4 separate regions of the Homo sapiens genome follow, and all the other regions are linked to region 3. Evidence: promoter capture Hi-C in human tissues and cell types (Jung and others, 2019). All regions are on one chromosome and are shown on one strand. Each heading gives the region's core, a stretch centred on a gene start or on the middle of the fragment in contact. The rest is flanking DNA. Distances are from core to core; before and after follow the strand shown. Region 1 overlaps STARD9 (StAR related lipid transfer domain containing 9). Region 2 overlaps STARD9 (StAR related lipid transfer domain containing 9). Region 3 holds the start of TTBK2 (tau tubulin kinase 2). Region 4 overlaps SNAP23 (synaptosome associated protein 23).

The links. Contacts are between HindIII fragments. The study calls those that stand out against the background at their distance.
Region 1: a fragment that was not itself captured here is called in contact with the fragment with the promoter of TTBK2 in region 3 in 2 of the 25 tissues and cell types used here (adrenal gland and mesenchymal stem cells).
Region 2: a fragment that was not itself captured here is called in contact with the fragment with the promoter of TTBK2 in region 3 in 2 of the 25 tissues and cell types used here (IMR-90 fibroblasts and stomach).
Region 4: a contact is called between a fragment that was not itself captured here and the fragment with the promoter of TTBK2 in region 3, in 1 of the 25 tissues and cell types used here (IMR-90 fibroblasts).

Annotation. Positions count from the first base shown.
Region 1 is chr15:42,620,602-42,623,301 of GRCh38, reverse strand. The region is part of intron 3 of STARD9 (StAR related lipid transfer domain containing 9); the gene reads right to left. Among named protein-coding and RNA genes, the nearest start is that of STARD9, 46 kb to the right of the region's middle. RefSeq lists an enhancer at 2,639-2,700. The HindIII fragment of the contact is 4,446 bases long and covers 1-2,700 here.
Region 2 is chr15:42,594,960-42,597,659 of GRCh38, reverse strand. The region is part of intron 3 of STARD9 (StAR related lipid transfer domain containing 9); the gene reads right to left. Among named protein-coding and RNA genes, the nearest start is that of STARD9, 21 kb to the right of the region's middle. The HindIII fragment of the contact is 3,561 bases long and covers 1-2,700 here.
Region 3 is chr15:42,919,523-42,922,316 of GRCh38, reverse strand. It overlaps TTBK2 (tau tubulin kinase 2), which reads left to right and starts at 1,539. Exons shown (of 15, transcript NM_173500.4): 1 at 1,539-1,879. RefSeq lists enhancers at 918-1,017, 1,220-1,720, 1,721-2,221 and a silencer at 1,538-1,947. The HindIII fragment of the contact is 10,494 bases long and covers 1-2,665 here.
Region 4 is chr15:42,517,459-42,520,176 of GRCh38, reverse strand. The region is part of intron 5 of SNAP23 (synaptosome associated protein 23); the gene reads right to left. Among named protein-coding and RNA genes, the nearest start is that of SNAP23, 23 kb to the right of the region's middle. RefSeq lists a silencer at 1,839-2,039. The HindIII fragment of the contact is 6,914 bases long and covers 1-2,718 here.

The DNA.
Region 1 (2,700 bases), core at 61-2,560, 300 kb after region 3:
GGAAATATTCATAGCAGTGTTGGCATTTGATCGGCATCTTTTTTTTTTTGAGACAGAGTTTCGCTCTTGTTGCCCAGGCTGGAGTGCAATGGCACAATCTCAGCTCACTGCAACCTCCGCCTCCCAGGTTCAAGCAATTCTCCTGCCTCAGCCTCCCAGGTAGCTGGGATTACAGGCATGCACCACCACACCCAGCTAATTTTTGTATTTTTAGTAGAGGTGGGGATTCTCCATGTTGGTCTGGCTGGTTTCAAACTCCCGACCTCAGGTGATCTGCCTGCTTCCGCCTCCCAAAGTGCTGGGATTACAGGCGTGAGCTACCACGCCTGGCCCTGATCTGCATCTTAAGCTATACTTACTTATTTCAAAGCACACTTTGAGAGAGGTCCCTACCTTGAAGCCCCACATAATGTCCCCAGATAAAGGCCTCTCTTCAGTGAGGTTGACCCCAGGACTGTATCACCATAAAATATAAAATGTATCCTTTTCATTTCAATCCTTCAGAACATCAGAGCTCTGGACAAAACAGGAGAACAACCATGTCACATGACTCCCTCTGAAAAATCTTTGTACTTCCATTTGTCATCTCTTAATACCTCACTGTCAACCTTGGAAAGTTCATAGTTACAACTAAAGATCTCCCACCTCAGGAACAACAGATACCCAGGCAAGTAACCACAGAGACAGTCAAACAAATCTCTCTGCCCCACCCCTTCCTTCAAGTTAGTTTTATTTGAACAAGGAAGTATGGATCCAAAACGGAGAGACATCCGCTGGGCAGTGGCTCATGCCTGAAGTCCCAGCTAATCAAGAGTCGGAGGTGGGAGGATCACTTGAGCCCAGGAGTTCAAGGTTGCAATCAGCTATGATCATGCAGCTGCGCTCCAGGGTAAGCAACAAAGTGAGACCCTGTCTCTAAAAAAAGAGAGAGACAGAGAGAGAGAGAGAGAGGGAGAGAGAGAGCGAGCTACAGGTGATAATGAGAAACTTGGCTTTCATTTTTCATTATTCTTTTTCTTTGTTTTTTGTTTTTAAGGGTCTCACTCTGTCTCCCAGGCTGGAGTGCAGTGGTACAATCACAGCCCACTACAGCTTTGAATTCCTGGGCTCAAGGAGTTGCCGTGGCCTCCAAGTAGCTAGGACTACAGTTGCACACCACCACAGCCAGCCTCATCATCAGATAAAGGAGTTATAAATTAGGAGAGGAAGAAAGCAAGAATGAATTATTTTCCTTTAATGTAGAGTCAAGGAAACAAAAAAGAATGAATTGTATGGTATTAGATCAGAATCAGTGAGAATTCATAGGCTTCAATATAGATTGAAAAAGAAATAGATAAATGTATGTGTATATATATGAAAATGTATATGCAAATATATATTCCCTAGCTTTGTCTAACTTTACCAAGAGGACCTGAAAACAGTGATACCCCAACAGAAATGATCACATCTAGCACCCAGAACTTGGTTTCTAAATATCATTTTCCACTAACAGGAACAAAATGAGCATCACAATTGTTAAGTTTAGCCTAAAGCTGTCTCCTTGCAGATTTTAAGTTTGTCCTAAGGGTTTCTCCATACATAGTGATTATAACCTAACTAAATGTATAAACAGACTGTAACCTACTTTTGTAACAAGTAGCCAAGTTTCAACCAATCACAGACAGCCAACTGTTCAAACTGTGTTCAAATGAAGAAAATGAGCTGTAACCAATCCAGCTGTTTCTGTACCTCATCCCTCTGTTTTCTGTATGTCACTTTCCTTTTTCTGTCCAAAAGTGTTATCCAACCATGTGGCAGCCTCAGGCTGTATCTGAACCTATCGTAGTTCTAGGGGCTGCCTTATTTGTAAATTCTTCTTTGCTCAATTAAGCTCTGTTAAATTTGTCTAAAATTTTTCTTTTAACACAATAAGCAATGATAGTAACAGGTTGTAATCCACTGTATAAAATGAGAAACCATGAATCAAAGATATAATATATAATATAACCATGGATCACAGATATAAATAATTTGAAAGTCTGATGAGGGCCGGAATACATAGTTTCAAAGTACTTCCTACAAAATATTTATTAAATACAAAATATTTATTAATTACAAAGAAGAGAAAGAGTAACTTTACAGTGAAAAAAATCTGGCAGACACCACCTTAATCAAGCAATCAAAGTAAATTCAGTGATACTGGTATCAAGGATACATAATCTGAATGTAATCATGAGGAGACACTGGACAATCCAAATTAAGGGACATGTATACCAGGTGGTGGCTCACCCCTATAATCCCAGCACTTTGGGAGGCTGAGGCGGGTGGATCACTTGAGGTCAGGAGTTCGAGACCAGACTGGCCAACATGGTGAAACCCCATCTCTACTAAAAATACAAAATTAACCAGGCATGGTGGCAGGCACCTATAATCCCAGCTACACAGGAAGCTGAGGCAGGAGAACTGCTGGAACCTTGGAGGTGGAGGTTGCAGTGAGCCAAGATTGTGCCACTGCACTCCAGCCTGGGCGACACAGGGAAACTCTGTCTCCAAAATAAAATAAAATAAAATAAAATAAAATAAAATAAAATAAAAGGGACATTCTACAAAATAATTGGCCTGTAATCTTCGTAAGTGTTAAGATCATGAACATCAGGGAAAAACTGAGGACCTATTCCAGACTGAATTAGACTAGAGTTAAGATAACTAAATGCAACAAGT
Region 2 (2,700 bases), core at 174-2,673, 320 kb after region 3:
GGAGGCTGAGGCGGAGAATTGCTTGAACTCAGGAGGTGGAGGCTGCAGTGAGCCGAGATCGTGCCACTGTGCTCCAGTCTGGGCAACAGAGCGAGACTCTATTTAAAAAAACAAACAAACAAAAATTAGCCAGGCATGGTGGCAGGCACCTGTAATCCCAGCTACCTGGGAGGCTGGGGCACGAGAATCGCTTGAACACAGGAGGCAGAGGTTGCAGTGAGCTGAGACCGCACCACTGCACTCCAGCCTGGGTGACACAGCGAGAATCCATCTCAAAAAAAAAATAAATATACATATATATGCATGCACCAGGTGCGGTGGCTTATGCCTATAATCCCAATACTTTGGGAGGCCAAGGTGGAGCCCAGGAGTTCAAGACCAGCTTGGCATTACAAAATTATCCAAGAGTAGTAGTACACACTTAAGGTCCCAGCTACATGGGAGACTGAGGTAAGAGGACTGCTTAGGCTGGGGAAGTTGAGGCTAAAGTGAGCCATGATCACGACACTACACTCCAGGCTGAGAAACAGAACGAGACCTTGTCTCAAACAAACAAAATATATATACACACACACACAATCGTAAACAGAATCAAAACAAAAGTATAAACAGGGAAAATGTTTGTAGTATCTATGACAGATGAATCAATTTCCTTAATATGCTAACTCCTTTGAAAAATAAGAAATAGATGCTATCTAGAAGGATACCAAAAGAATTGTAAACAATGGTTACGTTTAGAGAATAAGATGAGTGGGAGGTATAGAAAGGGAAGGCTTTTCTAGTTTTACCATTATAGTCTTCTGTACTGTTCGAATATTTTGCAATTATCTTACATTGCCTTTAAGCAAAATATTTTAATAAGCTAATCAATTAGCTGACATTTTCATTTATGCCGTTATCTGCTTTCTGCTGAGCACAGAAATAGAAACCATTTTTTCCCAAAACTTTCTCTGAACCCTTTTCTGAATGTTGTATTTAGAAGGAGCCTTTTGTTGGTCAGCTACACTGGCTCCCCCAAACAGAGGACTACAGAAATGGGGTTAAGAGGGTACTTGGACACAGGCTTACTGTGCAAGTATGTGGGAAGAAAATTTAGCACCTGTTAGCAGTCTGCCTGTGCATGCCTGTCTACTGTGGTGGACATACAGATCTTTTGCTCAAAGGGCTGCTGTTCATTTTATATCCTCTCGTTTAGAAGATTTTGCAAATCATTTTGTCCAAAGACTCTCAAAGTAATCATCACCATCATCATACTTCTCTTCCTCAAGCAATTAATTGACAATCGCTTTAAACCCAGGACAAACCCAAGTTTAAGGTGCAAAGGGTGAGTATAAGGAATTTTCAGCATTGCAGATCCAAGCAAGAGAAAAATGGGGTAACATCAAGGACAACTGTCTTAGGAACTCTCCATTTATGCTTAGGCTGCCCTTGGTCATCTGCAAATGACTATCAAGCTTTGGGCATGTCTCCCCTACAGATAACCTCTCTCTCCAGCCTGGATCTCAAGGGCTCTAGCTACCACAAGGAATTTCCATTACCCTTGTCTTACAGGGGGAAAAATCCACATAAGCTTTGGCATTTTAAAAGATTTCTCTAGTTTCCACTGTTCATTTTTGCATAGTCATGTGCCACGAGCAGCAAACATTGTCAAGAATCTCTGTCTTTCAGATGTTTCTACGAGTCTGAAAATTACTCTTTAAAGATTCACAGTCAAGTTTCTAAAGACGGAAAAAACAAGTTAGATTAAAATCCAGCTCACAGACATGCTTATGGAACCAAACAGCTGTGCTGCTGGCAGAGGGACATACTGAAACACTCATGGTAACCCCTCCCATCTTCCACTCAGCTCTGCAGAGCCCCATCTGATTACTGCACAAAAAGGCTTTTTCTTATAAACTTCTCTCCCTTCGACTTCTGTCTCCATCTTGGTTGGAAAAAAACCAGCACTAGTGATGGAATGTACAAAGCTCTGCAAATATTCATGAGAAAATGCTGCTTTGAATCCACATACTCCCCAGCTCCCCTAGCACATACATGCATCAGAAAAAGGGGATGCACAAAGAAACTGATTGGCATCTGTGGTTCTTTAACTTAGGCAAATTATGAGGCCTTCCCAAAACAGGCAGCAAAATTCAAGAAGGCAGAGTCCTATCTTGTCAGTCATACATTGAACCTTTAATTGAATAATTAATCTAATAGCCATTGATTGATAATGGAAGATGTGCAGCACTGGAAATACAGGAATAGAGTTGTATGTGGTATAGTGTGCGAGAGCTTGGACCATGGAGTCACATAGTCAAGGTTTGATTGCTGCGTCCATCACTTGGTTGTATGACCTTAAGCAATAATGCAACAAATCTGAGCCTGTTCCTATCCCTAAAATGGAGATACCTGCTGTAAAAAAGTGACACAATCCTAACAGTGCCCACCCCTCTGTGAGCTCTCAAATTCCTCCTCACCTTAGTTTGTTCCTCATGTTTCCCTCTCCTCTAGCCCCTCAAAGGTCCCTCCTCAGTTTCAGTCATTCTTCCACCTTCCCCAAAACCTTCATTCACACTCCAAGTTCAGCAGATACAAGAAAAGTAAGGCATAAAAGAAGGGAAGGTCACACTCCATCTCTCCAGCTCATCCTGCGTACTTTCTGAGGCAGCAGATAACAGATCACTTGTTATCATTTTGTAATGGGTTGGGGTTTCCCAA
Region 3 (2,794 bases), core at 290-2,789:
AATGAAGTACTCTATTAGACATAGTAATAGAAAAAGTAACGTGTGGTTTTAATCAGTAGAAATAAAAAACAATTTGGCAACATCTTTATGTTTGCATAGAACAAGATGAGCTGCATCATCACTTGCCTTTAATGTACATTTTGTCCTGCTTTCAATCCAAGGATCTGGACATGACAGAGAGTAGAGATGCCTGCTGTTTTTAAAAAGAATGGCAAGAGGCTGTGGCACTTCCTGAGCAAGAAGAAACAGATTCTATAGGAACAGTTCCAAGATTGAATATAGGATTAGTCATTTACCTTTCTATATTCTTAATCAGCTTTAATGACAATGTCACTTGAGTGAAGAAAAGGATTTAAAGTAAAAATGAAGTTCATAATTCATTACATTCTTTCCATTCATGGCAGAACCCTGGGGATCATTGTGATTCTTAAGTAGAAAGGACATTAGATGTGGGGCGTATGAGAGACCTGAGTTTTGGTTTTGCCACTGATTAGTTTATAGCCTTAGGAAAGCTGTTTAGCGTTTTTCATGTGTTTTCTCTACTGTACACTGGTGGGCAAAGATGGGAGAGGTGCTTAATCTTAAGGTTTTCCTTCGCCAAAGCGACTGACACAACACTAAATAGAAACGCATCCTGCACAGCGTCCTTGCTCCGCCCTCCTCGCTTTTCTTTGAAAGTCTTTGAGCACCTCCCGCATACACTTGCTCAGCATCGCATACTGGTGTGCACCGGGGCTGGCCATTGAGTCTTTAGCTGGTGGTGTTTCACAAAGGGAATGAAATCTTGTTCTTGGGTTGTGAAACCGTAAGGACACTCCGGTCTCCAAGTTGACATTCGTTTATGGAAGTGCCCATCTCCTTTCCTCGTCACACCTAAGGCCCTTCCCCAGTCCCCCAAAGATGATTAGCTTCACGTTAGGCGGTTCTGGGGACGGCGCCAATTTGCGGGATGCTGTCAGCGCTGATGCTGAGGAAGAGGATGGATCCTTAAGGCTTGCAGGGCCTCACGATTTGGGCCCTTCATCGCGACTGCCTCAGTGTGTAATTTCGTATCGTGACAAAGCATTTCCGATTTTATTCCGAAAAGCCCAACCATGGGGTCCCAACCATCCCTCTATAACCAATTTAACTGTCACGCTAGGAGAACACCTATGTGCGCAAACTACTTGTCTCGGAAGCCCTACTTCTCTCCTCGGGACAGGCGGGGAGTTGCGGCTATGGCTGGAACTACGAGGCCCAGAATTCCTAGGCGCATGCGCGCTGCCATTGTGATGCTCCTTTCCCGGTAACTCGCCCTCTCAGGCAAACCTGAAGATAGCGGCAATTCTCCGGTGGGGGGCGGAGACGGTTTCTGCCCGACTCTCCGCCCCCTTCGTGATAGGCAATGGGACTAGCCAACCGACGCTGCGAGTTCGGAACGCACTCTCCAATCAGCACCTGTAGCGGAGAGGTGGGCGTGCGCGCTGGCAGGGCAGGTGGGCTAGGCTGTGTCGGGTTACGAGGGGGGAGAATAACGTCGGGTCGGGTCAGCGGGCTCTGCAGTAGTCGCCGCAGCGGCGATGGGAGCGGTGGGGACGAGGCGGCGGCGGCGGCAGGAGGGGGAGCAGGTGCTGGCACAAGAGCAGCGGCTTGGGGGAGCCGGCAGCAGCAGTAACAGCAGCAGCAGCCGCCGCCGCCGCCGCCAGTAAACGCGGACGGTACCCCAGGGGACTACCCAGCCGGCCGGCCCTGGAAGCCGCGCTCGGGTCCCGCCGCAGTCGGCGGTGGGGGATGGGCAGGCAGTGGCGGTCCCGCCTGCCGAGGGTTAACCCCCGCCGGTCCCGGTCCTGAGCTGGACCAGAGCCCTCCTCCAGAAACCCCTGCGTCCGCCACGGCCCAGGTAGGACACACCCCCCGACCCCCCAGGGCGCCGCCCTCCCCCAGTCTCGACCCCCTCCTCCGGCCGCACCCCTCGCCGAGTGACCGAGCCTGCTGAGGAGGGGAGGGGTACCGGGGACTTTCAGTTCGCTGCAAGCCCGGGGCTCGTGCCAGACCCCGTCACTCTCCATCTCGGAGATCGTTCTGGTTCTGCCCGATTTCCCCGAAGGCTGCCGCCTCGTTTTGCCCCAGGCTTTGGGTGTCTTCACTGAACTTGGAGGGTCACGAAGCTTCGTTCTGCGTCTCTCTCTGTGGGTGACCCACATATCACTTGTACCCATGCCACTTCTGGTACCAGCACCGAACACGAAGGATTCCTAGGAAATCTGAGCGCTTATTTCCCACCCCGCCTCCCCAACTATCATGGAAAGGAACATGGGACTACTGAATCTGTTTGCTGTGTTGTAACGACAGTGAAGGCCGCGACTTTCTTGTACTTAGGGTGCTGAAGTAATGATCTGAGGGATTTGCTCGTCATTTGCTGTGGCAGAGATGATGTTGACACCCTGGGATGCTGTGGGAGGGACAAAAGACTCACGTATATGTTCTGTCAAATCGGAGAAGTAAATAATCCATTGGGATGCCAGGATACTTTATTCTACAGCGAAGTTAATTTTGTATCCGTCGAGGCTACAGTAGAGGTAAAAATGACATTGAGTTGTACTTTGCTTTGAATTAAAGTTGATGGGTAGCAGCAATCCTGGTATTAACTCTTCTCTCTCATCGCTTTAGAAATTATTCTTTCTTTGAACATTAAAGAGGACAGTTTTATTATACACTTCTAATAATGTGAAGATGTTTTGTAATTCAGTAGAAATTGAGTTTCTGTGTGTGTAGGAGGGTCATGTTATGAATGGGCACATGTAGACACACACGC
Region 4 (2,718 bases), core at 217-2,716, 400 kb after region 3:
CGGGAGGCTGAGGCAGCAGAATCACTTGAACCTGGGAGGCAGGGGTTGCAGTGAGCTGAGATCACACCACTGTACTCCAGCCTGGTGATACAGCAAGACTCTGTCTCAAAAAAAAAAAAAAAAAAAAAAAAGCAAGGGGGTTCTGCCTGGTTTTGAATCCCAGCTCTTCCACTACATAGTGTAGCCTGGATGTAAAATGATAATAATAAAAAACATCTATCTCATATTAAGGCTACTGTTTAAGGATTAAATTAACATGTTCAGAATAGTACCTTAAATTAATGCACAGGCCCACAACTGTTACCCCAATCCATTGGGGGCAAGATGTTTTGGACAGTACCACATAATTAAATACATTAATATTTCTGTAGTGACGTTGCGTGTGGTGGCTCATTTCTGTAATACCAGCACTTTGGGAGGCCAATGTGGGAGGATTGCTTGAGCTTAGGAGTTTGAGACCAGCCTGAGCAACATAGTGAGAACTCATCTCTACAAAAACTTTTTAAAGTCCAGGTACGGTGGCTCATGCCTGTAACCCCAGCACGTTGGGAGGCCGAGGTGGGTGGATCACTTGAGGTCAGGAGTTCAAGACCATCCTGGCCAACATGGCAAAACCCCGTCTCTACTAAAAATACATTAGTTAGCAAGGTGTTGGTGCATGCCTCTAATCCCAGCTACTTGGGTGGTTGAGGCATGAGAATCGATTGAACCCAGGAAGCGAAGGTTGCAGTGAGCCGAGATTGTACCACTGCACTCCAGTCTGGGTGACAACGTAAAACTCTGTCTCAAAAAAAAAAAAGAAAAAGAAAAGAAAAGAAACAGGGTCAGGCATGGTGGCTCATGCTTGTAATCCCAGCACTTTGGGAGGCCGAGGCAGGCGGATCACCTGAGGTCAGGAGTTCAAGACCAGCCTGGCCAACATGGTGAACCCCCATCTCTACTAAAAATACAAAAATTAGCTGGGCGTGGTGGCAGGCACCAGTAATCCCAGCTATTTGGGAGGCTGAGGCAGGAGAATCGGTTGAACCTAGGAGGCAGAGGTTGCAGTGAACTGAGACTGCATCACTGCACTCTAGCCTGGGCAACAGAGTGAGACTCCGTCTCAAAAAAAAAAAAAAAAAGAAGAAGAAACAAAAGTTTTTAAAAACAAACCAGGCATGGTGACATGCACCTGTAGTCCCAGCTACTCATGAGGCTGAGGTGGGGGGATCACTTGAACCTAGGAGGTCGAGGCTGCAGTGAGCCAAGATCATACCACTGTACTCCAACCTGGGTGACAGAGTGAGACCCTGACTCAAAAAGAGTATTTCTGTAGTGAAACCAATTAATATCTACAGCAAGTAATAAAGACTAAACATAGCTTCAGTTCAGGTTACATTTTATACCCTAATGAGTTGTGGCACCATTACAGCAAAAATAAAACAAAACTTTAGGAGTTTTTTAGATTTCTGAATGGCCAGCAGGGCTTAATGGCTCATGCCTGCAATCCCAGCACTTCTGGAGGCCAAGGTGGGTAGACTGCCTGAGCCCAAGGGTTCAAGACCAGCCTGGCCAACATGGTGAAACCTTGTCTCTACAAAAGATACAAAATTAGCTGGGTGTGGTGGCATGTGCCTGTAATCCCAGCTACTCAGGAGGCTGACGCTGGAGGATAGGTTGAGGCTGCAGTGAGCCATGACTGCCACTGCACTCCAGCCTGGGTAACAGAGCGAGACCCTGTCTCGAGAAAAAAAAAAAAAAAAAAGAGAAAGAAAAGAAAAAGTATTTCCAAATGGCAAATAAGGAACTCTGGACCTGACCTGGGTTGTTACTGCTACTGCTGGTATGAAGACTAGGCCTTACACATAGGACTAAGATCTCATGTCTACCTTTAAGAAGCTCATGTTATGGTTATTCATGTGACGAGCCTAACTGAAACACAGACTAGCAGATTAGAAAGATCAAGACACAGGCAAGAATGATAGGAACAGAGCTGAGGATAAGAGATATCATACTGGCCAAGGTCTCAATGGTGTAAGAAAGAAATAGGTGGAAGAAAGACAATTACAATCAGACATCTTTAACTGAGATAATACTTTCTTCTCTTAAGGGAACTGTTTTGTTACAGCAGCCCCTTGATTCCATCTCTCAAGAAGTGCCAGAAAAAAAAAAAGAAAGAAGTGCCAGTTGGGTGCAGTGGCTTAAGCCTGTAATCCCAGTGCTTTGGGAGGCTGAAGTGGGAGGATTTCTTGAGGCCAGGAGTTTGATACAAGCCTGGGCAACATAGCAAGACCCCTGTCTCTACAAAAAATTTCAAAAATTAGCTGGGCATGGTGGCACACACCTGTAATCCTAGCTACTTGGGAGGCTGATGTGGGTGGATTGCTTGAGCCCAGATGTTTGAGGCTACAGTGAGCTATGGTGGCACCACTGCATTCAAGCCCGGGAGACAGAGGGAGAGGCCATCTCTAAAAAAGTAATGCCTTCTCTTGATCCACTGAGAAAGGGTTCTACTGAGGTTAGAGGCTGAAGAATGCTGATTCAGGACCATACCCTACCTTGTTTCCCACCAGTCTTCAAGAAAAGCTTGCCTATGCTTGGCTGGGATACACAAAGAGACATAAAATTAATACTCTGTAGCTGCATTTCCCACTTTCTATGATATTAGACCATCTTAGGTCTAATTCAGTGCTCTTCCTATTTATCAACACGTGACTTAGAGCTGATCTTCCTCTAAGA